7 separate regions of the Homo sapiens genome follow, and all the other regions are linked to region 5. Evidence: promoter capture Hi-C in 16 types of primary human blood cells and fetal thymus (Javierre and others, 2016). All regions are on one chromosome and are shown on one strand. Each heading gives the region's core, a stretch centred on a gene start or on the middle of the fragment in contact. The rest is flanking DNA. Distances are from core to core; before and after follow the strand shown. Region 1 holds the start of LINC02901 (long intergenic non-protein coding RNA 2901). Region 2 holds the start of LOC124901454 (a long non-coding RNA gene). Region 3 has its middle 120 kb from the start of SLC22A3. Region 4 overlaps SLC22A3 (solute carrier family 22 member 3). Region 5 holds the start of TCP1 (t-complex 1). Region 6 overlaps TAGAP-AS1 (TAGAP antisense RNA 1). Region 7 overlaps TAGAP (T cell activation RhoGTPase activating protein).

The links. Contacts are between HindIII fragments. The CHiCAGO score rates a contact against its expected background, and 5 or more counts as called.
Region 1: a contact is called between the fragment with the promoter of LINC02901 here and the fragment with the promoter of TCP1 in region 5, in 5 of 17 cell types (activated CD4 T cells, monocytes, fetal thymus and 2 more). The highest score is 9.7, in activated CD4 T cells.
Region 2: a fragment that was not itself captured here is called in contact with the fragment with the promoter of TCP1 in region 5 in 7 of 17 cell types (total CD8 T cells, total CD4 T cells, naive B cells and 4 more); the score reaches 9.3 in total CD8 T cells.
Region 3: a contact is called between a fragment that was not itself captured here and the fragment with the promoter of TCP1 in region 5, in 1 of 17 cell types (total CD4 T cells). The highest score is 5.6, in total CD4 T cells.
Region 4: a fragment that was not itself captured here is called in contact with the fragment with the promoter of TCP1 in region 5 in 2 of 17 cell types (naive CD4 T cells and activated CD4 T cells); the score reaches 6.5 in naive CD4 T cells.
Region 6: a contact is called between a fragment that was not itself captured here and the fragment with the promoter of TCP1 in region 5, in 1 of 17 cell types (neutrophils). The highest score is 6.3, in neutrophils.
Region 7: a fragment that was not itself captured here is called in contact with the fragment with the promoter of TCP1 in region 5 in 1 of 17 cell types (naive CD8 T cells); the score reaches 5.4 in naive CD8 T cells.

The regions. Positions count from the first base shown.
Region 1 is chr6:158,866,855-158,871,112 of GRCh38, forward strand. LINC02901 (long intergenic non-protein coding RNA 2901) reads left to right here and starts at 2,960. Exons shown (of 3, transcript NR_160980.1): 1 at 2,960-3,123. RefSeq lists enhancers at 1,934-2,606, 2,607-3,279, 3,180-3,349, 3,280-3,953 and a silencer at 2,780-3,099. The HindIII fragment of the contact is 6,622 bases long and covers 1,536-4,258 here.
Region 2 is chr6:160,518,740-160,522,953 of GRCh38, forward strand. LOC124901454 (a long non-coding RNA gene) reads left to right here and starts at 1,611. Exons shown (of 2, transcript XR_007059844.1): 1 at 1,611-2,093. RefSeq lists silencers at 1,575-1,704, 1,745-1,824, 1,895-2,004. The HindIII fragment of the contact is 521 bases long and covers 2,097-2,617 here.
Region 3 is chr6:160,467,814-160,472,042 of GRCh38, forward strand. It overlaps the pseudogene LPAL2. Among named protein-coding and RNA genes, the nearest start is that of SLC22A3, 120 kb to the left of the region's middle. The HindIII fragment of the contact is 8,277 bases long and covers 1-4,229 here.
Region 4 is chr6:160,447,630-160,451,560 of GRCh38, forward strand. SLC22A3 (solute carrier family 22 member 3) reads left to right here. Exons shown (of 11, transcript NM_021977.4): 10 at 90-189; 11 at 3,367-3,931. The coding sequence ends at 3,427. Among named protein-coding and RNA genes, the nearest start is that of SLC22A3, 100 kb to the left of the region's middle. The HindIII fragment of the contact is 4,713 bases long and covers 1-3,931 here.
Region 5 is chr6:159,788,189-159,792,367 of GRCh38, forward strand. It overlaps TCP1 (t-complex 1), which reads right to left and starts at 1,414. Exons shown (of 12, transcript NM_030752.3): 1 at 1,217-1,414. The coding sequence starts at 1,280. MRPL18 (mitochondrial ribosomal protein L18) reads left to right here and starts at 2,279. Exons shown (of 4, transcript NM_014161.5): 1 at 2,279-2,451; 2 at 2,752-2,938. The coding sequence starts at 2,400. RefSeq lists enhancers at 612-1,276, 1,277-1,940, 2,197-2,376, 2,407-2,466. The HindIII fragment of the contact is 4,019 bases long and covers 1-3,395 here.
Region 6 is chr6:159,013,308-159,017,393 of GRCh38, forward strand. The region is part of intron 1 of TAGAP-AS1 (TAGAP antisense RNA 1); the gene reads left to right. Among named protein-coding and RNA genes, the nearest start is that of RSPH3, 15 kb to the left of the region's middle. RefSeq lists a silencer at 1,216-1,416. The HindIII fragment of the contact is 4,542 bases long and covers 547-4,086 here.
Region 7 is chr6:159,040,565-159,044,546 of GRCh38, forward strand. It overlaps TAGAP (T cell activation RhoGTPase activating protein), which reads right to left. Exons shown (of 10, transcript NM_054114.5): 2 at 3,556-3,640; 3 at 3,414-3,467; 4 at 3,025-3,091; 5 at 1,514-1,680; 6 at 790-951; 7 at 159-268. The coding sequence starts at 3,582. It overlaps TAGAP-AS1 (TAGAP antisense RNA 1), which reads left to right. Exons shown (of 5, transcript NR_183546.1): 4 at 355-491; 5 at 1,234-2,492. Among named protein-coding and RNA genes, the nearest start is that of TAGAP, 2.4 kb to the right of the region's middle. RefSeq lists enhancers at 88-1,287, 1,861-2,130. The HindIII fragment of the contact is 4,627 bases long and covers 1-3,982 here.

The DNA of each region.
Region 1 (4,258 bases), core at 1,710-4,209, 920 kb before region 5:
CTTTGTTAAATGAATGTCAGACACAAAGCTAATGCTAGTATTTGGAAGTGATGTCGTTGAAGTTTTGATAAGGACATTTAAAGTTATGGATGATAATTAAGTCTTACTGTAAATTACTACCTGACTATGAAACTTAGTACAGTCAATGTAGCTCTGTAAGAGAAATAATAAAGATAGAATAGTCATGACTAGGTGCTTTTCTTCTTAATCATTCACGGGAAGGAGCAAAAAAGATAATGAACATTTTTTTGAATACCTATTTGTGCCACTCAATAATTCAGGAACTTCAGAGATCTCAGTTAATCCTTTCAGCCAAACAGGTTACAAATAAAGAATCTGAGGTTCATAAAAGTTTGGAAATTCATACAACTTCAGAGAGACGGGTTGGGGGATGGTGGGACTGGGGATTAAACCCAAGCCTGCCTGGCTCCAAGGCAGTTTCCACTGCAGGGTCTACTGTATTTGGAATTTCTATCAGGTAGTTCTGGTAGCTTTTTGGAAGAAAGTGTAGAAGAAAGTTTGAAAGTCATTCTTATGATCGGTTTGCTTCCTGGTTCCTAACCAACCAAGTGGATCTAAGTGAGGCCACTTTGTAAACAGGTCGTTCTCCAAATTGATGAACACAGCAGAATCTGAGACATTTTCAGAAACTTTGTACTGCAGATTTAATATGGTCTGTTGCTCAGGGGAAGCGGAGATTGTTGAGACTGTAGGCACCCTTATTTTCCCTCTCACATAGCAATCTTTTTTTTTTTCTTAAGACAAGGTCTCGCTCTGTCACCCAGGATGGAGTGCTGCGGTGTGATCACAGCTCACTGCAGCCTGAACCTCCTGGGCTAAAGTGATCTTTCCACCTCAGCCTCCCAAATAGTGGGGATTACAGGTGTGAGCAACCACGCCCCACAGTAGCAATCCTTTTCTTAAACCAGCAGCAGGACAAATGTCTTCCTGAAGATTTGTAACACCTGGTAGTGATCCCAACTCCTTCTGGGCCCGCTTAAGACTAAGTTTCTGGTTAGGAAAGAAGAAACTGCAGAGCTTAGTAGTTAAGGGCACACAGGAGTCAGACAACCTTGGGTGTGAATCCCGGCACTGCCATGGTACTAATGTGTTGCATGAGTCATGTTGAGAGGTGAGGCCAGCTGGACTTCCTGGGTCCAGTGGGGACTTGGGGAACTTTCCTGTCTTACAAGAGGATTGTAAAACGCACCAATCAGCAGGATTCTAAAAGTAGCCAGTCACGGGAAGGATTGAAAAAGAGGGCACTCTGATAGGATAGAAATGGAACATGGGTGGGGACAATAAGGGAATAAAAGCTGGCCACCCCAGCCAGCAGCGGCATCCCACTTGGGTCCTCCTCCATGCTGTGGAAGCTTTTTCGCTCTTCACAATAAACCTTGCTACTGCTCACTCTTTGGGTCCCGGCCATCTTTAAGAGCTGTAACACTCACCGCGAAGGTCTGTGGCTTCATTCTTGAAGTCACTGAGACCACGAACCCACTGGCAGGAACCAAGTCCAGACACAATGTTATGCAAGCTTTCTAGACCCTTTCTGTAAAATGGGTATAATAATAGTATCTAAGTCATGGGGATTTTGTGAGGATTAAATGAAATGCCTGTTAAGCATTTAAAATGCCTGGCACATTGAAAGTTCTTTTTGGAGACAAGTCTTGCTCTGCCGCCCAGGCTGGAGTGCAGTGACATGATCTCTGCTCACTGCAGCCTCTGCCTCCTGGGTTCAAGCAATTCGGTGCCTCAGCCCTGAGTAGCTGGGATTACAGGCATGCGCCAACACGCCCACCCAATTTTTGTATTTTTAGTAGAGATGGGGTTTCACCATGTTGGCCAGGGTGGTCTGGAACTCCTGACCTCAGGTTATCCTCCTGCCTCGACCTCCCAAAGTGCTAGGATTACAGGTGTGAACCACTGCCTTTGGGCCAAAAGTACTTAATTCTTATTGATGTCCACATTCAACAATTACTAGGTTTGTTTTTTCTGCATCCAGCTGCAAATGATCTTCAAAGTTGTGAACTCAGGAAATCTCAGAGGCGTTTATAGGCTTTCCAACCAGAGATGATATTTGTAATTCAAAGAAGTAAATAGAAATCCTTAAGAGAACCCCTTTCAAGCTAAGTTCCCATCTAATATGGAGTGGTGGCTTCGAATGATCCTTTTGGCTTATCTTTTTAAGTGTAAGAATTTTTGATGAATCACACTTCGTACCTATTTGGTCACTTTCACCAAAGTACAAAACCAGTCTGCCACCAGAAGAAATTTAATAACCTTGAGACTCAGAGAAGCAATGCTGCCTGATTGGTGGACAGCCAGACCAGTGAGGGTCAGACGTGGCTCTTCGGCTCCGGACACGGGAATGTGGTGGAAATGAGATCCTCCAGCGATTCTAAGGAGTGTTTTGTTCTTCTGGCTTAAGAGAAGGGCAGAGGACAGAACCAAGGGGAAAGAGAGACAGGCCCAGCCATTGTCTGACGTGAGGCACGATAACACATTAGAGGGCTGGTTTAGCAAAGGGCAAGGTAGAGTTGGCATTAGACGCGCTTGCAAAGGGAGGCGGGCAAGAGCTTCAAGACGCGAATGACACTTGAGCAGCCTGGGCTCACGTCTGGTAAGGTTTACGCCGCCTGTTCCCGCCATCTGGCAACTCCCTCCCAGAAGGGTGAGTTTGGTTCTTGGCAAATCCCCTTCGGACACACAAGCTCTTTTATTAAAATATAACCCCACTAACAGATTGCAGACTAGGCACAGAAGCCCCAAAGCACCCCCAGAGACCGCAGCAGTCCCGCCCCGCCGCCCCCGGATCCGCGCGGCTGCCAGAAGCTCCCCTCCCCCAGATCTTGGCCCCTCCCTGAGGCGCGCGAGCGTGTCGTCGCCCGCTCCCGGCCAATCAGGGCGCGCGACCAAAATAGCGCCATATAAAAGCTGGATGGCGGGCGCGGCCGGTGCAGAGCCTCGCGCTGGGGTGGGGTTGCGCGCGCAGGTGAGGGGGGCGGGGCCGGCGCGACCGGCGGGGCGGGGCGGACACTCCCACCGCGCACCTGCTTCTGCCTGACGTGTACCCGGAAGGTCGTCAGCTCAGGCTCCAAATATGTAACAGTGAGTTTCTAAGTGAGTCACACGGACGCGGTTGGTTTCCAGTGAGGCATAACTCATCGCTTCACTCTTCTCAACGGTTCCCTCTTCGGAAGGAAGCGCAGTCCGCAGCGTCGTCCGAGGGCGTGATCGCCTGCGTCGCACCCGCGTCTCCAGTGGCCACCCCTTGTCCTACAGGAACGCGCATCTGCTTAGCAGGCGCTGAGCCCTTGAGGAGGCCTAAAATGAATGAACGCGGCTGTGCCTCCTGAGCAGGCTCACAGTTGTGGGTGGGGGACAGAAGGGTGTCCATGCCTAAGGTCGACGGCGATAAGACAGACGTTCTTCCCAGGAGGAGATCAGTTCCAGGTGGGAGGCATTTCTAGGAGTCACCTTTCTCCGAGGAAGTGACCTGAGCTGTAGGAGGTGGAATCACAAAGGCTTTGGTGCCCTACACACCTGGGTTTTAGCCTCAGCTTGAGTCACTCACCCAGTCTGTGACGCTGAACACATCAGGAAACCTCAAACTTTCCCCATCTTTAAGATGCAGATAATAGCCGGTCACCATGGCGTGTGCTTGTAATGGCAGCTACTCGGGAGGCTGAGGCAGGAGGATCTCTTGAACCTGGGAGGTGGAGGTTGCAGTAAGCCGAGATCGTGCCACTCACTCCAGCCTGGGCAACAGAGCGAGACTCCATCTCAATAAATAAATAAATAACACTACATGACTGATAGCATATTTTTGAGGAGCATCTCTCCCCCTCCGTGCTTGGGTTTAATCCCCCCTTCCTCTCTCCCTCCCTCCCTTCCTCCCTTCTTTCTTCCTTCGTTACGTTTCTCTTCATTTCTTTTTTTCTCCATCATTCCTTCATTTTTCTTATTTTTTCCTAACTGATATAATTTACACACAATAAATCGCACAGAAATTAAGAGGACAGCTGGGTGAAGTTTTACATATGTATACACATGTCATTAGCCCCTAGGTCAAGATCTAGAACATTTCCATCACCCCAGGTTTCCAACTGCTCCTTCCGGTCAGTAGTACTTCCCCAGAGGTAACCACTATTCATTTGGACTTAAATTACCAAGTATGAGTTGTGTCTACTCTTAAACTTCATGTAATTGCAATCAAGCATTATGCTTTATTCCAAACTTGTCCAACCCGCACAGG
Region 2 (4,214 bases), core at 1,107-3,606, 730 kb after region 5:
TACTGTTCTTCAGACCAATTGCACTAGTTTAAATTCCCACCAACTGTTTTTAAAATTCCCTTTTTTTCCTGCATCCTCACCAGCATTTTTTATTTTTTGTCTTTTTGATAATAGCCCTACTAACTGGGGTGAGACAATAGCTCGTTGTGGTTTAGATTTGCATTTTCCTGATTAGTGATGTTGAGCACATTTTCATACATTTGTTGGCCATTTGTATGTCTTCTTTCAAGAAATGTCTGTTCAGATCATTTGCCCTTTTTTTTTAATTGGGTTGGTTTTTTGCTGTTGAGATGTTCGAGATCCTTGTATATTCTAATACTAGCCCCCTGTCCGATGAATAGTTTACACATATATGAGGCACCACGAGATCCTTTACACAGGTTAGTTCACTTACTCCTCACTCCAACCCTATGAGGGAGGCGCTATTACTACCACTCTTATTTTACCCATAGAGAGTTCAGCAGAGGTTCATAACTTCCCCCAAAGTCACACAGCTAGTGTGGCAGATGGAGCAGGGTTGGATGCCAGAGCCAGGCCCTCCAGCCCCACGCCTCGTTGCTGCAGGAGCCCTCCAATCTGCAGTCACTGCCACAGGCATCAATGGCACTACCCAGAATAAGGATTTATTGAGCACCTACTGTATTCACAGAACTCTAATCAGTCTGAAAGTCCAAGCAATGAAGCAAACAAAGCCAAGGAATGGCAGAAATGGCAGAGTTCAAACCAGAGTCTAGGGCCTGAAGTGCACCGCATGGGCCAGGTTAAAGTGAATGAAACATTCCTATTTTGATCCTTTTCATTATTTATCATTCATACCCCTAACTACCTTTAATGCGATTAGTTTTAGATGTAAAAACAACAAATACGCTACAAATCAGCTCTTCCAACATTTTCTTCTCGTGAAAAAGGCTCTTTGAAAGCCCTGTTTTGCAGAAACTTGCTCCTTTTGCATGAATGGTAAATCATAGGAGACCTGGTAGATTACGCTACATACTTAATGTGAAAGGTTGCTTCATTCAAGAGCCTGGAGTTTTCAGACATTGTCCTGAAACTTCCCTGCCTAGGGTAGGGTAATGCCAGCGACGGCAGGAAATAGCTCTGACGCACTTAAGAGTTAAATACAACCTACAGAAGTTCTGGCTGGGTGGGGAAAACCTATTGCTAAAGAGAAGAGCTACTTTTTTTCTTTTCTGGAATTTGCAAACAGCATTTATTCTCAGCCTTACCTTCCACAAGCTCCACCTGGAACATTGCTGGGCAGCGTGGAAACAGAAGCAAACATCAGCCAGGCCGGCAGGGGGCAGCAGACCCCACATTTTGCCCTCGCCTCCCGTGGGAGGGAGTGCCCGGCTCCCAAAATCCTGTGGCGGGTTTTGTCCCAAGCGACTTCAGCCAGCAGATAGTTCGTGTCCTTCTGAGGCCGCAAAATTTGGGGTGGAAGAAGTGGGGCGTGAGGCTGAGAGTGAGGAGAGCAATCCAGGGTCGCCAGGGTGGGAGCCGCAGCGGGCCCTAGGCCTCCGGGAGGACACTGATGCTTCCGGACCGCGCGAGGCGCGCCGGCAATGCCGGCAATGGACGTGCGACAGCGGCACGAGGCGGGGCACCGGGAGGGGATGCGGGGGGAGGGGGGACTCGGGCATGGCGGGCTTCAGGTTCCGAGCCCTATCCCTGCGGGGAGGCGGCTGAGGCCCAGCGAGAATTCGAGCGCGGTGCGGGCGGGCCGGCAGTGCTGGGGGGACCCGGCGCACCCTCTGCAGCTGCTGGCCCGGGTGCTAAGCCCCTCACTGCCAGGAGCCTGCGGCGCCTGCTGGCTGCTTTGAGTGCGGGGCCCGCTGAGTCCGCGCACACCCGGAACTCGCGCTGGCCCGCGAGCGCCGCTCGCAGCACCGGCTCCCGCCCGCGCCTCTCGCTCCACACCTCCCCGCAAGCAGAGGGAGCCGGCTTCCGCCTCGGCCAGCCCAGAGAGGGGCCCGCCACAGCGCAGTGGTGGGCTGAAGGGCTCTTAGAGCATGGCCAGAGTGGACGCCAAGGCCGAGGAGGCGCCCAGAGTGAGCGAGGGCTGCTAGCACTTTGTCACCTCTCAATTTGACGTTGTAAGCTTCCTTCCACAGAGTGACCTTTTTCATGCAATCGATGTGCTCCTGTGTCAGCTATGCAAAATAATTTTTGTTTACTGAATCTGGTTTAAAAGGCAAGAAGTTGCTTCCCATTGGGCACTTTGATCCTGGTGAAACGGGATGTGTATGCCTGGAAACATGGACAGTCACATGCACTGCTTGGTTTTGTGTGGAACTAACATGAGATGATCTTTTCACTGATTTTCAGAATTGTGGAGAATTCACTTAGGAAAATAAGCATGTGTATCAATGCATGACCAATATGGGCGTTTACTTTAACTGATTTCACAGAAGCAGTGCTCCTAATATTTTGAGCCACACAGATTTTATCTGGTGCCTCTTTATGATATGATCAATTAGCTGCTTACTTCATAAGTTATGTGGAGTGGGGAAGATACTCCTATTTTCTCTTTAAATGTCTTTTCTCTGATTTAAAGAAGTAATAAAGGAGAAATCTTTTTGCTATATTTTACTTTTATCCTCCACTATTCTGAAGTTTAAGCTTCAATAATTAATATAAGTACAGTAAAATTAATATTTTAAAGGTAGCTGATATGCTTGATAACCAGAAAATATTTCATTTTTTAAAAATTCTATTTCATCTACTAATTTGATCCATATGATCCATATGCAAGGGTATGTAAAAGTCTATATATAGTCATATGACAAAGGTATATGGTGTATTGAATTTATACTTTTATTGTTCATCACTAAGACCCTTTTTTACTTTAAAAGTGGGTTATATAGACCTGTGAAACATGCAACAAAAATGAAAACACTGCACCTTTTTGTGGTTCTGTAAACACACAAGAAAAGTGGAGGTCAGGATCCATGCTGTTGGCCAGGTATTAAGTTGGCGTTATCAGCAATCACTGTAGTCTCTGTGAGTGCTGATGAATCTGAATGTCATGCCTTGGGAATTGCTTTTTTGACTAGATTACTGGTTTGAGGTTGTTGCCGTTGTGTTTTTTGTAAGAGTAGAAATTCACAAGTGCACAACGTTGGATTTAGGTAAGTGGAAATTTAATGCAATCACAGCAGTGCCTCATACAAAGAAAGTGATCAACAAATGTAGCCATGATAAGGGTCACTCGCTAGGCCAGTTGTCACCTACCCCTCTGCTGGATGACAGCCCTTCTGCATCTGCACTCAGCTCCCGCGTTTCCGGAGCTTCTCTTCTCAGACCATGCAGTGCCCAGAGCTTCAGATCTGTCCATATCCTTCATCAACACCTCCTGAAAGTATGAGACCTTGCAGAGGCCCATGTCTTCCAGGTGTTGCCAAGACAGCTGAGACAGAGCCCTGGAGTCCTTTCTTATCATCCCTTGATCAGGGTGTCTTATATCTGTTAATTCTACAAATAGCCATTTTTTTAAATGTCATTTATTTTAAACCAGTAGCTCAGCTGTCCTGTGCCAGCTCCACACCCTCAACTCTACAGCTGATTACACAGTTCATTATTATGCTAATTTAAGAAATGTTAAATATATGCAAACCTACAGAGGGAACAAACACTGTAGCAACTTACCAACTTTCCCACAACCTGCAGTTAACAATTGTGAACAGTTTGTCATTTTAACTTTTCCCCAGTCCCTGGAATTTCCTCATCTCTAACCCAGTCTCCCTCAACCACTCATGATGAAGTGTGTACCCATCCAATCTGTTTTGGAACATTTTAAAATTATTTTACTTGGTTTTTTTTAAATCAGCTTTATATATGCACATAGTTTAAAGAGTCAAAAAGTTCTGTCCAGGCATGGTGGCTCACACCTGTAATCATAGCAATTTGGAAGGCCGAGGCAGGAGGATCATGAGTCCAGGAGCTTGAGACCAGATTGGCCAACATGGTGAAACTTCATCTCTAATAAAAATAAAAAAAAATTAGCTGGATATAGCAGCCCATATCTGTAATCCTAGCTACTTGGGAGGCTGAGGCACGGGAATTGCTTGAACCCAAGAGGCAGAGGTTGCGGTGAGCCAAGACTGCACCACTGCACTCCAGCCTGGGTGACAGAAGGAGACTCTGTCTCAAAAAAAAAAAAAAAAAGAAAAAAAGTAAAAAGTTCTGTTTTTACAGAATTACTGCGTTTCCTTCTC
Region 3 (4,229 bases), core at 1,267-3,766, 680 kb after region 5:
AGTGACTTTGAAATATTCCCATTAAGGGTACCATACAATTACTACAACAAAAAAGGTCCTCAATTTCTTTTCTTTTTTTAATTTTTTTTAATTTTTTTTTTTTTTTTTTTTTTGAGACAGAGTTTTGCTCTGGTTGTCCAGGCTGGAGTGCAATGGCACGATCTCGGCTCACTGCAACCTCCGCCTCCTGGGTTCAAGTGATTCTCCTGCCTCAGCCTCCCAAGTAGCTGGGATTACAGGCATGCACCACCATGCCTGGCTAATTTTATATTTTCAGTAGAGACGGGGTTTCTCCATGTTGGTCAGCCTGTTCTCGAACTACCAACCTCAGGTGATCGCTTGCCTCGGCCTCCCAAAATGCTGGGATTACAGGCGTGAGCCACTGCTCCCGGCTGGGTCCTCAATTTCTAACCCACTGCATACCCTTAAAAGATAGATTCTAATTTTTATTTTAAAATATCAAAAGTAGTATATGCTTGTATTAGTCCGCTCTCACATTGCTATGAGGAAATACCCGAGACAGACTGGGTAACTTACAAAGAAAAATGTTTTAATTGACTCACAGTTCCACATTGCTGGGGTGGCCTCTGGAAATTTACAATCATGGCAGAAGGCAAGGGAAAAGCAGGCACCTTCTTCACAGGCGGCAGGACAGAGTAAGTGGAAGCAGGGGAAATGCCAGACACTTACAAAACCATCAGACCTCAGGAGACTCTCTCACTGTCATGAGAACAGCCTGGGAGAAACTGCCCCCATGATCCAGTTACCTCCACCTGGTCCTGCCCTTGACACATGGGGATTATCAGGATTATAGAGATTACAAGTCAAGATGAGATTTTGGGTGGGGACATAGCCAAACCCTATCAATGCTCCATATAAAAACTGAGATCATATATAAATGTGCTTAAGAAAGGACCAGAATACCCTCCTTCTACCTTCTGCCAAACACATACCTCTGGAGGAACCGGTATAGATTTTGAAGTGTGTCTTATAGATTTTTTATGCACATACAAATACACCTATGTCTCTCTAGCTCTCTGTATCTCTCTCTATAGGATTGTATATTAATATGTGAGTTGGAACTAACATATATTTCTCCAAGGAGGAAATGCCATCCAAGATGATATCATTCCCAGGCCAGCCCCCTTACTCTCTGTACTCGTTGTGTAGCTAAAAGGCTCTGCATTTACAATGAAAAACAACCATGAAAATAGTATTACTGTCAATACCATTTCAGGTGGGTCAAGTGGGTTTGAGTCTACAAGACTTATAAAAGCTGAACTGGAAGACTAGCTCCCAGGCAGGATGCTGTTTCTCTAGGATGGGTTCCTGGGCAGGACCTCCTCTCTTGCTCTCAGTCCATCCTCTGCTGGCTGCAGCCACTCCGGGACTGAGGGAATGGGGGATGAGATGAAGGAACAGTGGGACCCAAGGCATAAAGGGAGATGGCTGGCTAGACTATGGGATCTGAAGAGGTCAATTGACTATGGAGGAGGCAGAAAAAAAATTGAATAAGAGGCACAGCAGGTGAGGACCCCAGGGTTGGGGGCATCTTGGAGAATGTGCTCCCCTTCGTTCCTCCCAGGAATGTTGCTTCAACCTCTCAGAATCCTCACATTCATGGCCTGTGGCTGTCTGAGAAAACTTGAAATGTATTATGTACCATGGGAATGCAACACTATCTCTGTAGAGACTCTACACATGTGACCCAGTCTCAAGCCCAGACTCCCAGCTACAGGAGGCTGGTTCTCCAAGCAACTGGATATGTTAGCAAGTGTGGTATTCGAAGGAGATTTTTTTATCTATTTTCAACTGAGGTACACTTTCATGTATAGTCAAATGCACAGATCTTAGATGTAGTTTGATGAATTTTGATGAACATGTACACTTGTGTAACTCGCAAGTTACGATCGTGACACAGAACATTTACATCACCCCAGAAACAACTTTTGTTTTACGGCAAAATCAATCTCTGCTAATTTCTTCCCATGGCCAGAGGCAAATGATACTGGTTTCCTTCAAGAGAAATTATTTTTGCCTTTCTGGAACCTTATATCAATGGACTCATATATAATGTTCATTTGTGTTATCTGACATCTTTCCTTAATGTAATATTTTTGAGCTTCATCCATGCTATTTGAGAGTATCATTAATGTGCTCCCTTTTATTGCTGAATAGTATGCCATTGTATGAATAGATCGCAAATTATTTATTCATTTTCTTATTGATTGACACTGTAGTTGCCTACAGTTTGGGGTATAAAAAATAAAGCTGCTATGAATATTCTTGTAGATCTCTTTGTGGAATTATGTTTTCATTTCTGTTGGGTAAATATTCAGGAATAGAATTGCAGATTTGTAGAGTAGATGTGTCTTTATTGAACTTTTGGAGAAATCATCAGACTGATTTCCAAAGTGGTTTTATCATTTTGCACTTCCACCAACATACGAGAGAGTTGCATATCCTTGCTCTACATCAGTGACATCAGTTACTGTGGTGTCTTCTTAATAATATCCATGTCCACTGGGTGTTTGGTGACATCTCATGATGGTTATAATTCTTTATTTTTCATGGCTGAGATATTGGACATTTTTTCAAGTGCTTATTGGTTTTGTGTGTATCCATCCCTGAGAAATGCCTATTCAATCTGTTGCCTTTTTTGATTAAGTTGTTTGTCCCCTGTTTAGCAAGTGGGAGAAATGTTTCTATACTCTGGACACAAGCCATTTGTCAGATAGATAGAAAGAGAGCATTTTTCTTCTCATGTGTTATTTGCTTATTTATTTTCTTAAAAATGACTTTTGGTGGGCATGAGTTTTCATTTTATGAAAGCCCACATCATAATTTGTTTTCTTTTATAGTTAGTGTTAATGACTCCTCTGTCAAAAAAAATTGCCTTCTCCAAGGTTGTGAAGATTTTATATTTTCTCTTGGAACTTTCATATTTCAGTTTCAGTTTTAGCTCTGACACTTAGGTGGAAGAGATATCTCAAATTAATTTGAGATGAAAAGTAAAAGTCAAGGTCTGTTTTTGTTTTCTATCATGGATATCCAAATGGTTCAGAATGATTTTTGTAAAAGATTATTGTCTCCATTTAATTGCTTTGTCATCTATATAGAAAATCAATTGACCATATGTATGTGGGTCTGGTGCTGGACCATCCCTTTTTAGTTTTGCATACTTTTTTGCCAATAACGCATATCTTTTTATTTTTTGAGATAGGGTATCATTCTGTCATCCAGGCTATAATGTAGTGGCATGATCAAGGTTCACTCATGCCTAGACCTCCTGGGTCAAGTGATCCTCTCCCCTCAGTGTCCTGAGTGGCTGGAACTACAGGTGTGACTCATCACACCCATCTAATGGTTCATTTTTTTTTGTGGAGAGAGGGTCTCGCTCTGTTGCTGAGGCTGGTCTTGAACACCTGGGCTCAAGCCATCCTCCTGCCTCAGCCTCCCAAAGTGTTGGGGTTACAAGCATGAGCCAAGGGTCCTGGCCAATACCACGTCTTGATTCTTGTACCTTTATAAGTCTTTATATTAAGGTATGTAAGTCCTCCACATTTTTTCCAAAAAAGGACTGCAGCAATAGTGTTTGGGTGAGAGTTTAATCCAAAGATCAATTTGATGAGAAGTGATATTGAGCCTTTCAATCTATAAGCATGGTGTATCTTTATTTAGATCTTTTAATTCTTTCCTTGACAACGTTTTCTAGTGCAAGCTGTATAGTCCTTGTGCATAGTTTGTTAAATTTATCATTAAATATTTTTTGGTTTTGATAACATTGTCAGTGATATTGCTTTAAAACATTTATTTTTCCAAATGATCATAGAAAGTATACAGAATACCAATTAACTGTTATACACAGAGCATGTGTATATTTTTTAGGACTGTCTGCATCCATTAATCAGGTTTTCCTTCTGGTTTTTCATTCTTTCTTTTTGTTTTCATTTTTGGGTCTTGGTGCAAAGGCTGTGACCATTGTAGTGAAGTGGTGATGAGAAGTATTGAGAGCAAACATCTTTCTTATTCCCAATCTTAAAAAACAATAATATTTCACCATTAACATGATGTTTGATGGAGGTTTTACACAGATGCCCTTTATGAGGTTAAAGGAGTACCATTCTGTTTCTAGTTTGCTGAGACATTTTATTATGAAAGAGTGTTGAATTTTCTCATATTTCCTTCTGCATCTATGGATATCATGTGATTTATCACTTTTATTCTGT
Region 4 (3,931 bases), core at 778-3,277, 660 kb after region 5:
AACATGATGGCTTCAGAGTGAGCAGGCCCCATGGGAGAGGGCCCAGCTGTGTCTTCCTGGAGCGGTAACACCTTTCCCCTATTCCATAGGTATCCTGGCATCCATCTGTGGTGGCCTTGTGATGCTTTTGCCTGAAACCAAGGGTATTGCCTTGCCAGAGACAGTGGATGATGTAGAAAAACTTGGCAGGTACTGTACAAAATTCAATGCACCCTAAATAAAAGCAATATTTAAAACCACGGGGGAAAGAATGACATTGAGAAAATTGAATATCCACAGGGAAAAAAATAAGAATAAATCCTCATCTCATATTGTAAGCAAAAAATTCAAAGTAGATACAAAAGGTTAACATAAAAAAAACCCTCCAGAGCTAGATAAGAGTATGCATTGTTTTTTTTAATGTGGTTGTGAAGAGAGAAGCATTTTCACATAAGGTGCTAAGACTCAGAAGTGATCTAAAGGCAGGAACTGCTGATGTGGGAAAGTGGAAATTGCTGGGACATACAGCAGCAGGGGATTAACAGTGTGGCTTACTCTACAGAGTGAGGATGCGTCAGGTCTGTCTAGATGGAATGGCATAGGCAGGTTTTCAAGACTGACTACAAAGTGAAATGTCACTGAACAACATGTTATAGTATTTATAAAAAACTAAAACCAAAGGTGTTTTCTCTCTGCAGCTGGATAGGAAGACAGATGACACACAGATGATAGATAATAGGTAGATGATAGATAATAGGTAGATGGATGATAGATAGATATAATAGATGATAATCATAGATAGATAAGTGATAGTAGATAAATGATAAATAATAGATGATAGATGATAGATAGATACAGATAGATAAATAGACAGGTAGATGATAGGTAATGTCTGGATAGATAGGTGGATAGATAAATAGATAATAGATGATAGATAATAAACATTAGTAGGAAGATAGAGAGATTGAGTTTTGGAGGGGGGTGTTTAAATAGGGTATAAGTAAAACTAATACCCAGCCAATATATTAACATGAGGAGTAATGTCAAGAAAAATTCACATTACACAAATTCTTTCTAATTGTTTGAAATTTTTTCATTAAAACATAGAGATATGAATATGAGAATGTATAGTACAAGATGTAAAATATTAATATGTGCCCTCTGTGGACACAAATGGGCTGGGAAGAGGGGTAGGGAAGGGAGGACCATCACTTTCTTGCCAGAGACTTCCATACTGTTTGATTTTCTTTAAAAATTAGAACACGTAGTCTTGTGTTGCTTGTGTAGTTTTAAAAAATGATGTAACAGCTAATTTAACAACTAAAAAGCAATCTTAATAATGACTTAGGAATTAAGAACATGGAGCTCTAAATATTTTTAATATATAAAAAATCCTGAGGAACAGCTTTCTTCCCTTTGATTCTATTCCACTGACTGCCTTCTGTTTACACAATGAGAGTGATGCTTTCATTCTTTATCCCCAAACCAATCAGGATCAGATTTGCAAACTCATCAGGAAAAAATGGAAGAAAAGGGAGTCCTCTGAAATCAAGACTTTTCTACTGCTTCAGTAACATTAAAAATAAACAGCTAGGAGAGGTTTTTTTGTTTTTGTTTTTGTTTGTTTTTGGCTTGGGGAGTGTGGGTGGAAGGGGGTTGTCTAAATGGTGTGCAAGGAAAATCAATACCCAACTAACATATAAACATGAAGGATTATACCAGCAAAAATTTAAGGTACCCAGATTCTTTCTAATTTTTTTCTGTTTATAATTTTTCATAATGAAAAGTTGGGTACATTAATTAATTATACCTAGTCTCTATACATGAAAAAAAATATAGTAGAAGTATGGTTTACAGTGCTACAATTTAAGCACATTAATTGTGATCCATGGTTATTTACTCTACAAAAATTACTTAGTGCTAAATTACTAAAACTTGCTAGCATTTCCCTTTTAAAAATCACACTGGATTATTTTATCGTTTCTGCTGGTTTTTGTTCATGTTAACAGCTCATTTCCAAATATATGTTAATTCAGTAGAAGTTCATAAAGAACTTAAATGCTATAATGCTAACAAACCCCTGTATCAGAGGAACCAGCCCCCAATATTTCAGCATAGGTTCTATTTTCCATAAGTGTTGGCCAGCTGAGAAATAAAAAGAGTACAAAGAGAGGAATTTTACAGCTGGGCCGCTGGGGGTGACATCACATATCGGTAGGACTGTGATGCCCACCTGAGCCTTAAAGCCAGCAAGTTTTTATTAAGGGTTTCAAAAGGGGAGGGGGTGTAAGAACAGGGAGTAGGTACAAAGATCACATGCTTCAAAGGGCAAAAAGGAGAACAAAGATCACAAGGCAAAGGGCAAAAACAAACATCACAAGACAAAGAGCAAAAGCAGAATGACTGAAAAGGGTCTATGTTCAGCGGTGCATGTATTGTCTTGATAAACATCTTAAACAACAGAAAACAGGGTTCTAGAGCAGAGAACTGGTCTGACCTCAAATTTACCAGGGCGGGGTTTCCCAATCCTAGTAAGCCTGAGGGTACTGCAGGAGGCCAGGGTGTATTTCAGTCCTTATCTCAACCGCATAAGGCAGACTCTCCCAGTGCGACTGTTTATAGACCTCCCCCTAGGAACGCATTCCTTTCCCAGGGTCTTAATTATTAATATTCCTTGCTAGGAAAAGACTTCAGCAATATCTTCCCTACTTGCACATCCATTTATAGGCTCTCTGCAAGAAGAAAAATATGGCTGTATTCTGCCCGATCCCACAAGCAGTCAGACCTTATGGTTGTCTTCTCTTGTTCCCTGAAAATCGCTGTTACTCTGTTCTATTTCAAGGTGCACTGATTTCATATTGTTCAAACACACATGTTTTATAATCAATTTGTACAGTTAACACAGTAGTGGTCCTGAGGGACATACATCCTCAGCTTACAAAGATAACAGGATTAAGAGATTAAGGTAAGAGATGCATAAGAAATTATAAAAGTATTAATTTTGGGAACTGATAAATGTCCATATTAAAATGAAATATTCACAATTTATGTTCAGAGATTGAAGTAAAGACAGGCATAAGAAATTATAAAAGTATTAATTTGGGGAACTGATAAATGTCCATATCAAAATGAAATCTTCACAATTTATATTCCTCTGCTGTGGCTCCAGCTGGTCCCTCCATTCAGGGTCCTTGACTTCCTGCAACACCCCTAAGGTCTGAACACAGACAAAAAATGATCCTGGAGACAGATATTGTTGTTACCTTAGAGTTGGGTTTTCATGAATGTATTTGATCAAAACCAGCTATACTATTAAATAATAACAGAACACCCTCTTCTAACTAGTTACATAATCTTTCCTAAAGACTTTCTCCTTTGTTTTTTCAGTCCACATTCCTGTAAATGTGGCAGGAATAAGAAAACCCCAGTTTCCCGCTCTCACCTTTGAGGCCCCCGACAAAGACAGAAAGAAGGAGCTATCCAGGAGCTGATCCTCCTTGCAAAGCTGTGCCTTGCAGAGATGCACGTGTGCATTTCAGCTACATCATGCCGCGCTGTTGTAATACTGTATAAAGACCTCAATCTATCCAGAGTATTTTTATATAATGTTGGATGAGTTAGGATTTGTAATGCTGTTGAAGTTTCTGGGAACACATAATATGTAGCCAGTTTAACAAAGAAGCTGTCAGGTGCACAGCCCTTCCTGGGTTTTTTTCTTGTGTTCCCTGTGGTCTCTGACCCATTAGGCTAAAGAGAGACAAGAGAAGCCCCCAACCTGATTCTCATGACAGCTCCATCAAGAATGTGGGATGTGCCGACCAAGGATTTGAGAAAGTTGTACAGAAATGTGTTCATCAAATCTGGTCAAGGGACTAAGCTCCTAGCTGACCATTCATTCTGAAGATTGCATGGAGGATGAACATCTGGGAATCCTGTTAATGAGAAGGCTGAA
Region 5 (4,179 bases), core at 164-2,663:
CAACTCTGAAAGACAGTAATTTCAGCCTAAAGGTAAATGACATCCAACAGCCCCCGTATTTCCCAAATCTACAAATCTGTGTTAATTATTTAAAAACCACCTACTAAGAGTGTAAATGGGGCCAGACACTGTGGCTCACAGGTGTAATCCCAACACTGCGAGGCCGAGGCAGGAGGATCGCTTGATGCCAGGAGTTTGAGACCCCTTTGGGCAACATAGCGAAACCCATTTCTACAAAAAATAAAAACAAAGCCGGATGCGGCGGCGCGGACCTGTGCTTGGAGAATGCAGTGAGCTATGATGGCACTCTCGTCTGGGCGACAGGTGGGACCCTGTCCCTAAACAAAGCGAGCCTATTTGGCACAGCTTTGATGCGGGGTGGAATCTGATGGCGGGGAAAAAAAAAAAAAGTAATAACCACCAATTTCATGCTCTGCCACTTCGTACAGCTATACCAGCCTTTTCCTTCAGATTCTGCAAGTTTTTTGCTCATTAAAACTCTCTTTATCTGTGAGGAGAGAAATCGGTAGTCAACGGGGAAGGTGGTGACTTTCAGATTTGTTTACGAAAAAAATTAGGAATCTATCAAGAAACAGTAAGCTCTGTAGGTATCCAAAGGCCTGACAGCAAACGCTCTGCTAAGTTAGCGCTGCCGTCTCCTGGGGTCAATGCACTCGAGTGGCGTTTCCTGGGCTAACTCTACTGTAAGAAGCTGTCAACCCGGATACGGCTGGACGCCGGACGCCCGACCTCGACTGCAGCTGCGGGCGGACAGGGCACCGGGCTCATCCGAGGGCGCGCGGATGGACCTACTCTTTTTCTGGTAAATGGTCCTAAAATAAAACCTGGCGTTTAACATGGACACTCAGGGGGTCGCCCTGAAACAAAAGGGGGTGCGAGGCGTGGCCCGCACGTGCGAGCCCGGGAGGCCCGCTTTCCCGCGGAGGGCGCGTTTCCAACGCCGCCCCGGACACCACATCCACGCGTTGCCGGTCTCAAAACCCTGCCGCGCGCGGCGGGGCTCCTCCTCGCTGTGGGAAAAGTGGGGCCACAGCGCCCTGCCCCAGAGAACGGCGGGTGGGCTGGGTCCGGCTGCGGGGCCCCGAGGCCCTTTCTGCGGAGGTAAAGGAGAGAAACGAGGGCAGCCGGGGTCCGGTCGCGGTGGGACTCGGCCCTCCCCGGCCGCAAACCCGACCCAGGCCCGGCCCGCCCTTACCGTTTTGGGAGCGGATCGTTTCCCCAGTGCTGCGGTCACCGAACACGGACAAAGGCCCCTCCATCTTGACGGCAGCGATACACGTCGAATTCTGCTTACACCGCGGGCAACCAGTATCGCGGCCCCTCGGCCGACCGGCGACCACAGCAGTGGCTGCGACGGCGTGGAGCGTACCCGAGCGATGTCCCAGGAGCTACTGGGTAACACACCACCCCACCCGCTTCCCGGCTGCCCCGGCCCGGCCGCGGGGCACGGCGGGAAGGAAAAAGAGGCAGGGACAACAGGGAGAGAAACAGGACTGTGACGGAAGTGAGGCTCCGGGGAAGGGGCGGGGTCGGCATTTTTGTCCAATTAGATAGCCGATGGGAAGGGCGCGAAAGCGGAGAACGGAAGTCGGATGTTGGACCGCTGGGAAGAGGTTGAACCTTCGCCTCAAACGATGTTGCGCAGACGCAGTGGGCCATTCTAGTGCCTTCTAGAAAAGGTTGTAAGAAGGGTGGAGCTTGGAGCTGGGGTGTAACTGGAGGGGCGGGCCCTTCTCCAAGTTAGAGTTGGGGTTCTGAGCGAGTCGTGCGTTTTAGGTTTAGTGTCTTTTCCTTGTCCCTGCTCGGGGAGCGTGAGGCAGATCGGCCGGCTTTGCTCCAGGCCTCAGGAGTGTAAGTTTAAGGGCGCGAACCTGGGTGGGACGGGGCAGTTTTTCCAGCGGGCCATACGGGAAAATTTTTGGTTCGAGGAAGACAACCACCCTTTTTAAGGAGAAAACTGCATCTTGCCCTGCCTTATTCCTACGCGGTGCCCAGGTGGGGTGTGTGTGGACCAGTCGATGACCGCCCAAGCTCTCCGAGTAGAAAACCCAAACATGGTTTTGTGGGGTGTGTGCCTTTGACCCCGGACTTAAGCAACAAGCGTGGTCTTGGGCGTAGCTACGAGGTGGTTGGTGGGCTCCAGGGCCTGCGTGCCCCTCGACGTGAGCGATGATTGGCGATGAAGGATAACAGATCGCCTTCTCGGCCACTCAGTGGCAGGGGACTTGCTACTTCCGGGTCGGTGGCGTCTGGCGTGGAGAGTTTGGGGATCTACAGCAGCCAAAGGCTTGTCCCTGACTTTATATGGCTGCTCCTGGCGAGCGACTGAGTCGTCCGTGAGGAAAAAGAGGCGAGGCTTTTCCGAGATCGTCTCAGCGATGGCGCTTCGGTCGCGGTTTTGGGGGTTGTTCTCGGTTTGCAGGAACCCTGGTAATTAGTCTTGCCCCCCTTCTCCCAGCTCACTCGCCTGGGCTTGCACAGTACATTGGAACGTGCGGGTTCTATTTTGTATTCGACGTGCCGGATCGAAATAGAGCTCGCGGCACTGCGAAGACCACAGTAGGAAGTTAAGGACGGGGTCAGTGCTGACTCCACCCTGTGGGCATACGTATTTTTCGTCCCCTCGGGCCTAAAGATTGGGGGTGTAAAAGCGGATAGACGTTAGAGCGGGTTCGTGCGCTGTCCATATCCGTCATTTTTAAGCCCTGTGCGGTTTTTCCCGTTGCCCAGGGTGCAGGTTCGCAGCCCTGTCAACCAGCTCCGAGCCGGCAGCGAAACCTGAAGTGGACCCTGTGGAAAATGAAGCTGTCGCCCCAGAATTCACCAACCGGAACCCCCGGAACCTGGAGCTTTTATCTGTAGCCAGGAAAGAGCGGGGCTGGCGGACGGTGTTTCCCTCCCGTGAGTTCTGGCACAGGTAATTAAATCTGCTTGTGATTGACAAGGGCAGTGCACCCTACAGACTATTTTCATTCATTCAACTCCAGGCACTCTCCCAGGTAGCTGCCATGCGGCGGGTAGAGGCAGGGTTCGCGGAGGGGCTGGAACAAACAACAAATAGGTGTGATGGGGGCTATTTAAAGAGGATGTTACAGTAGCGGACAGGATACCTGCCTGTCTGAGGTGACATTTAAGAAGGTGAGATCTGAAAGAGGAAGAAGCCTAGTCATCTGCCAGAAAGAGCAGTCCTAGCAAAGGAAACTGCTGGGGTGAGGAACTGAAGGGCTTGTGGATCTGAAGCTCAATGGGCAGAGGATGAATGGCCCAAGATGAACATGGAGGGGTAAGGAGGCGACAGATGATTAGCTTTGTAAGTCAAGATGAGCACTTTAGACTTTCTTTTCATTATAGTGGGAAACTACGAGAGGATTTAAAGCTTGAGCCCGAATTGGTTTTTCAAGATCATTCTGGCTGGGCGCATTGTCTCATGCCTGTAATCCCAGCACTTTAGGGAGCCAGCCGAAGAAGCCGGATCATCTGAGGTCAGGAGTTTGAGACCAACCTGGCCAACATGGTGAAACCCCGTCTCTACTAAAAATATAAAAATTAGAGGGGCGTGGTGGTGCACGCCTGTAATCCCAGCTACTCCAGTGGCTGAGGCACGAGAATCACTTGAACCCAGGAGGCGGAGGTTGCAGTGAGCTGAGCGCCTGGGCGACAGAGCAAAATTCTGTCTCAAAAAAAAAAAAATCATTTTAGCTGCTTTTTGGAAGATTAAATTTTTGAGGGAGCAGGACTTGAAGAAAGACCAGTTAGGAGTCTAGTATGACTTGAGATACTTTGTTATAAAGGTGGTTGTTTAATGAACACTTACATTTGCCAGGAATTATGCTACTTGCTTTATATGTTTTTTCTCATTTAATCCTTAAAATTACATCATGAAGCAGTTATAATTTCCCCCATTTTACAGGATCAAAGAAATTGAGGTTTAGGGAGACATGATTAGTAAGTGCCAGAGCTAAGATTTACATATGTTTTAACTGACCTCAGAGCCAGGACGCTAGGTTATTACCACTATACTACAGCATGTAAGTGTTTATCAGGTTTATCTGCTGCTTATCTGCTTGGTGAGGATTTTTTAGAATTTCTTAAGGACTTCTTAAGTACTATGTAAAGTTGTAAGAGTAAATTGGAAATCATTACTGTGTGATGTATTAT
Region 6 (4,086 bases), core at 1,568-4,067, 770 kb before region 5:
TCAGTTCTGTGGCCACGGGCTGTGGTTTGGCCTGCAAGAACCTCCTTGAGCTGCTCCTCTTAAGGTCTCCGTCATTTCCCGGAAAGTGGATTTCTTGCATCACATGCTTTACCTCATGTTTCAGAAGAAATGTCATGATTGATGACCACATGAAACTGATTTGGCTCCAGGGTCTGTAATATTGGCCAAACTATTTACATGGTTGAGAGCCAATGCCGAGAAGAACCAAACACTTCCTCTTCCTCAAAACCAGAGCTGTGTAGTGCATCGTATTCATCATTAGCATCACCAAGAGCTTCACATGTTTTCTATGTCTTTTTTTTTTTTTTTTTTTGAGACAGTCTGGCTTTGTTGCCCTGGGTCTGCTCTTGAAATCCTGGACTCAAGTAATCCTTCCACCTTAGTCTCCCAAAGTGCTGGGATTACAGGCGTGAGCCACTGTGCCCAGCTGTTGTCTGCATCTTTAAGACTTCAATGGTTACCTGATTTCTCTGACTTTTAACTAGGAAGGAATAGTAAAAGGTCTAAGCAGCCACGTTGTCAGAAAGCTTCAGTTCATACTGTCCTCCACCTGGGACTTGTGAATGTCCCTGTGTTACCTATGGCTGGACTCAGTATATTCATTATGTTCATATAATGCAAATATTTAGAAGTGAGGCTGACCTGTTTTTTATATTTTTTAAAGTAAATCTCAGAATCAGAGAAATTATCATTTCCTTTTGATCTAAGAAGTTAGTGACTCACTTTAGTAAGAGAAATATTTTTAAAGGCACAGAAAAAAGACTAAGAATTATAATAATATAAGAAAATATTTCTGACTAGAAATATTACAGTATAACTATTGCTGGGTAATTAGCCCTCCGCCCACCTCTGAAATTACTGACTTGAACAATGTATTTGGAACCTTCAGAAACAAAGCCAATAGTGTATAAATACATACATTATAAGACCTTTATTATAGGGAATTTATTATGAGGAATTGGCTCATGGATTGTGGAAGATGAGAAGTCCCATAGTCTGCCATCTGCAAGCCGGAGACCCGGGAAAGCTGGTGGTACAGTTCCAGGCTGAGTCGAATGGCCTGAGAACCAGGGGCACTTGATGGTGTAAGCCCCAATTTGAGGGCAGGAGAAGACTGATGTCCCAGCTCAAGTAGTCAGGCAGAGGGAGCAAGTTCTACCTTTCCAGGCCTTTTGTTCTGGCCTGCAATGGACTGGGGAAGGAACACTGGGGAAAGCAATCTGCTTTACTCAGTCTATGATTCCAGTGTTAATCTCATCCAAACACCTTTACAGACATACCCAGAATAAGGTTTATCTATTCAGGCATCTTGTGGTCTAGACATAAAATTAACCATCACAAACAACATGCATTTATTGTGCTCAAGGGTTCTGTGGATCTGGAATTTCAACAGGGCACAGGAGGGAGGGTTTGTCTTTATTCCCTGGTGTCTGAGACCTCAGCTCAGTAAGACTCAAGCTGGCAATGACTTGGTAGCTGGGGGCTGGAAGCATCTGGAAGCTCTTTCATTGCCCTGCCTGGTGCCTGGGTTGTCATGACTTGAATACTAGGATTACTGAGCGGAGCAGTCACCAGCTTGCCCAGATTCAGAGAAAGGGGGACACAGACCCCAACCTCAATCAGCAGAGTAGCAAAAGAATTTCTGGCCATACTTTCCAAAACGACCTGGTAATAACTTGTTAACATCGGTTTTCTTTGGCTCATAGGATTTGGGATGGTGTTCTGTGTTGAACTGTGTCCCGCCACCCCCTTCCAAATTCATATGTTGAAGTTCTAACCCCCACTACCTCAGAATGTGACTATTTGGAAATCGTGTGTTAATTACTTAAGTTAGAATGAGGTCATACTGGAGTGGGGTGGGCCTCAAATCTAATAAAACCAGTGTCCTTATAAGAAGGGGAAATTTGGATACAGATTTGCACACTGGGAGGACACCATGTGAAGATGAAGGGAGAGGTCAGTGTAATGTTCTGTCAACCAAGGGATGCCAGAGATTGCCAGTAAAACACCAGAAGCTAGCTGGGAGGTGTGGAACAGACCCTTCCCTCACAGCCCTCAGAAGGAACCAACCAGCCCTGCCAACACCTTGATCTTGCACTTCTGGCCTTCAGAACTGTGAGACAAAAAATGTCTGTTGTTAAACCATGCAGTCTGTGGCACTTTGTTATGACAGCCCTCGCCAACAAATACAGATGGTTTTAAGGTTTTTTATACTTTTCATATTTTTGACAGGGAACATATATTTCTTTAATAATGAGAAAAATAGATTTGATTTAATTTAATGTTTTCAATTTCTTTGTTCCGTAAAAACATGAAAATATGCCAAAATCTTTCCATGGTTGTGTCTAGGTAATGTGACTACAGGTAATTAAAAAAATCCCATCTACTGAAAACGTTTTCTCTAATGAGTATGTGTCACCCTTATTATGGTGAGGAAAAGAAGGCTGGAAAAGCCACCATGGGAAGTAGAAAGAGCACCTGCCCTGGGTCCCACTCCGCTGGGGAGTAGCTCTGAGTCCGGCTCCCAGTGTGTAACAGGGGGAGTCTTCCTCAGTGTTGGGAGAGGCAAATGCATGCATCTATGCAGACACACACAGAATCCCGGAATCCAGTATCTGGCGCTGGGGCCTGGTGAGCTGCACTTTGCCTCCATTCTCCACAGTGTGGTTTACAGCCTGTGGCTGTGATTACGAGTGGTGGTGGAAGATGTCAGTACTTTAAGATATACATATATATATTTTAAAATATCTATATATGGATATATATATTATATCTATAATATATAGATTATATATCACCTATATATAGATAATATATATATAGAGTACTATATATATATAATCTATCTATCCATCTATATGAGAGAGAGAGAGAGAGACAGAGAGAGAGACAGAGACAGAGTCTTGCTCTGTCACCCAGGCTGGAGTGCGGTGGTGTGATCATAGTTAATTGCAGCTTTAAACTCCCTGGGCTCATGCAATCCTCCCACCTCAGCCTCCTGAGTATCTGGGGCCACAGGAGCATACCACCATGCCTGGCTAATTTATTTATTTATTTATTTTGTAGAGAAAGCATCTCCCTTATGTTGCCCAGGCTGGCCTCAAACTTCTGGGCTCAAGTAATCCTCCTACTTTGGCCTCCTGAAGTGCTAGGGTTACAGGCATGAGCCACCATACCTGGCCACAAAAAATATTTCAACCACAATCATGTCTCTTTTCATGCTGACTTACCTCGTTGAATGGCCCTGGAGTGGTCATGGGGATTTTAGGACTAGGCTAAGGGAAAGCTGACTTATGGATATATTTAGTTTGATTTCAGTGAATGTCTTAATCCATTTCAGCTGCTATAGCAAAATCCCATAAACTGGATGGCTTATAACAACAGAAATTTATTTCTCACAGTTCTGGAGGCTGGGAAGTCCAAGATCATAGCACCAGCAGATTTGGTGTCTGATGAGGGCCCCTTTCCTGGTTACAAATGGCACTTTCTCTCTTAATGTCCTCATGTGGTGGAAGAGGTGAGGGGTCTTTCTCAGGCCTCTTCCATAGGGCACTAATCCCACTCATGAGGGCCCCAGCCTCATGACCTCATCACCCCCCCAAATGCACCACCCCTTAGTAGCATCACCTTAGGGGTTAGGATTTCAACCTAGGAATCTTGAGGGAACCCAAACATTCAGGCCATAGCAATGGGATTTACTTATGTGCTTTGCAATCACTTCCTTAAGTAGGTAAGTTATTCATAACTATCCTGGGGTGGGAGGGGCTTTCAAAGATAGTCCTACTGACCACTGTGCCTACTCACCAGGCTTGTGACGTGTGCTACGAGAAGAACACTTTTTGCAGAGCCTAACATTGGCAGTATGTAGGTAGTAGAGGAACATTTGAAATATATAGAACCAGCAGTCTGCAGGTATTTTTCCAGATTTTATAGCTCCTATATGAAAAACACTTGGCAGAGATTTCTCCAAATTTGTCAATAATTCTAACAATTTACATGACATTATCAATGAGTTGAGAAGCTGAAATAAATTATTCTAAACTATTAATGTTGGAAAGAACTCCA
Region 7 (3,982 bases), core at 616-3,115, 750 kb before region 5:
GGTTTTTGTTCTGGGAGTGGACGAGCAATTCCACTCGGATTCCCTAAACATCACAATTCTCATGGAACAGGGATCATGAAGCATTTAGAAAGCTGTGTAAAGAATCAAAAGACGGAGGTGATGTGGCCTGGCAATGACCGATGACTTTGATGACTTACTGTTTCAGGGCCTCGATTCTGTCCTCCTCGTCCTGCATCTCCAGAGCACCCATCCACTCCTCAAAGAGGTCGCTTGAAAGTAGCTTCCGGGGGATACTTCTGAGGAAGTCCTGGGGGATGAGAGTGGGCTGTTGGCCTATTGGTACTGTATGATGTCCCATGTCCTTGTTTTCACCCGGTTTTCGTTCCATCGCAGGGTGCTCTATGCTTAGCCCATCATAGATTGTGGCCCTTCATTCCTGCATTTGATGAATCCAGGGAACCCTCTCTCCAACACCCTTGGCCTCTCTGCAACTTTCTAACATCAGGCAGAGTCAGAGGCACCATCCCCAGGTGGGTGTGTTCTGAGGGGCCACTGGATTTTGACGTATGGATTCTGCCACGGAACAATCAAATTGCCCGTACTTGGCAAAGTTTTGGGAGAGCAGAATGCATCACTTTCTGTTGGAATCTGAGGTCACAGAAACAGAGGTGCTTACTAAATAAATAAATAAAGGGCTTAATGAAAAAAATTAAACTCCAAGATCAGTGTACCTTGCTGTGTGGGGAGAAGAGCCTATTTCTTGCATCCTGAGAATGAGTGTGTCAGGGCCCCTTGGCAGGTTATTTGGCGCAAGTGTGTTGAACTCACCTTAAAGACCACAGCGAGGAGGTGCACGGGGAGCCTCTCCAGATCCACCGCATCCCCAGAGTTGAGCTCCTCCTTCAGCTCCTTACGGGCTTTCTCGTTGGCTGCTCTCCTGAATATCCCTTCCGTTGAAGGGCCTTTAAGGCATAGAATAGTGAGAATGTCCTAAAGGAAACAGCAATAGGAACAGGAAAGGGTTACCCTTCTTCTTTAGTATACTGAGATAGTCTTAACAGGAATATTGATGTCAGATTTTGCTTTCAGTCCAGTTGCTGTCAATGGCCTTCCTCAACCCTGCTATTTTTCTAAGAGGAGGCAAATTGTGAAAGCTCTAATTTTGCACTTTCTAAAATCACTTTGGAGCTCTCTCCTTTCAAATACTTCCATATGAACATTGGATTTCAGATCACAAAGTCTATATTCTGTTTCCCCCTTTTGACTTTTCAGAAGCTACAAATCTTCAGCATTCTCCACTCTGTGAAGTCAGAGGAATGGCGGGACCATAGCTCTGAGCTCATTGGCAAATACAACTAATTTCAATTTCTGGAATGGAAGCAGTCAGATATTCTTCTGACTGCACGCGTATGTGGGAGTGCCATGTTGAAGAGTGGAAAATATGGAAGATCAGTCCCTACAAACTTAATAGGAGAATGACATTCAGATTTCCCGAGTATTTTGCATGTCCAACTGAAAACTGAAGTAGGTTTATGAGAGAATGCACGCCTACCTGGATGGGTCTGGGGAGTGTGTCACTGTCACCGCAGATAATTGACAAGGGCTGATCAAATAGCGATGCTTTCAAGTCTGTCTCCAAAGCCCCAGAAAAATCTGATGCAGGGGAGAGCCTTCTCATGAGAAAGGGCCAGGACAGCACCTTCTTTCTCTTCTTAACTTCTACAGCCAAGAAAACAAGGCAACGAGAAAAATTAGACTACAGTGTTAAGAAGCAAAGATCCAGGTAAGAAAATGGGTATCGTTGGCCGCATAATGTGGTCAATAGTATGCGATGTGAGAAAAATAATTTTGAAAACTTGAGAAAGCAAAGGGCGTGAATCTTAATCTAGAAAAACCAACCGATAAACAACCACACTGTTACCAGGGCAACCAGTTCCCTAAACAGCAACACCAGAGTTCCTCAAGGCCTCCACCTTTCCTGTTTTCACTCTTTCCAGCTGTTTGCTACAGAAAATTAGCAAAACCTAACTGTGCTGATCATAAACAACCATCTTAACCTACTGGCCTGAATAACTATAGAGGAAATTTCTGATATGAAATAGATTATTTTGATTTCCTCCTTTAACTGGCGAAGAAAACGAAACTTAAAAGGTGAGGAAGTGACTTGCTGAATATCTTTTCGAAGGCACATAGCAGGGCTGGCTCCAACCCTTTGCAGCCACGCAGGCACTAAACAGCCACTAGAGGGAGCTAACACCATTTTTCCTTCCAGGTGACTGGTCACCTTGGGTTTTCCAGGTTGCTGCTTTAGGACAGAGGCAAATACGAATCGCTGCGGGAAGCCTTGAACCTAGATCTGGCAACTGGGAATTATCAGCAAAACGTTATCAAGATATTCTGTCCTTCTGAAATCCACAAGATGTGTGTGCAATGGATATTGCAATCTCAAACATTTCCTTCTTTCTTTTCTTTTCCTTCCTTCCTTCCTTCTCCTTTCTTACTAATTATAAAGGCTATATTTTCTAAATGCATTGGCATCTGTTTCTATACATTTCAGATTGGCAAGTGGAAGCATGATGAGAAAGAAGTGGCCTGTCTTTATGGTTCAGGAGAACTGGGTCAGGGTTACGCTATAATGAAATGCATTATGAAAAAAGTTGAGAGTGAATGGTGGGTCCTTTGGGATTTGAGATCAGCAACAGTTGCTTCATAGGCTCTTGGATGCATTCTCCATAAGAGAAGGAAGAAAATGGAAAAGACACTGTGTGTTTTTCAAATGTGTGCATGCTAATTGTCGAAACATACATGGCCAGGAGATTGAACCGCATTAAAAACGCTTGGCAGAACTGGGGATTCTCTATGGAGAGGCTCTTTCCTTTCCCAGCACTCCCTGCTCTAGTGAGTTGGAGCATACCTGCCATTTAAGGGTTAATGTTCTGCGGTCTTTAACAGAACAACTTATACAAAAAAATTCCTAGTAGAGTAAAAGCGCTGTGGTTTTGCAAACCAAGAGCACTGGTTGTTAGCACTTACATAAAAGATCGGTATGTTTTTAAAACTCACCAATGAGCTGGCAAATACTGTCTTCACTCTCACATGATGCCAACAGGGGATGTTCCTTGATATCACCCTAAAAACATTTTTATTTCAGTTAAATATAGTGACTGAAGAAACCTATCGAGTCTTTCCCCACAAAACACACATACAGCATTTTATTCATATTAAAAATGAAGTCAGTAGAGTGCATTGATGTTTTTTCTAGCTTCTAGAAGCAATATTAAGGTCTTGATTGTCATCATATAAGATCCTAATTAATGTGCTTAATTTACTACATGTGTGATGTTAGTTTACTACTCTTATAATTACTATTCAACCCAAATAATATTCAATTAAAACAAAGTTTTCCACCTTCTCACAGTACAGATAAAAAGTCTTAAAAATTGCTTTCTTACCTCTGATTGACATTCGATTAGTGTCTCCATATTATTGGCGTTTAGTGTTTTTGACTAAAAGAGAAAAAATAAAATTAGGTAAATATCTTTTGGCCCTTGCCTGTAGGAAACGTGAATGAATGAATGTGAGAGGGGCACTCACAGCATTGTGGCTGCTTCTCAGCTTCATCAGTATTGCGGCTGACTGTCCAGGGGTGGATTTCACTCCCGTGTGGCTGTGCCTCTGTCTACAACGAATCACATGGAAAGGAGTTAGGAGGGACTCACACAGTAGGCCACTTTCAGCGCCACTTTGCCAAAGCACAGAGTTTGAAACTATTTATTTATTTTTCTCTTTTGCTATTTTTTCACTTGCCTTTACTTTGGAAAAAACTATTACATAGACAAGTTTTCATTTAAAATCAGTTCTGTTACCAGATGTTGTATGTTGTTAAGAGCAGCATCTGAACACAATTATTTCTAAATTATTTAAGTCAACTATCTTTACCACTCTAAACGTTGTTACCAATTTATTCCGTTCCATCAAGAGATAATCTGGATATCAATTACGTTAACATTTTAAATTAACA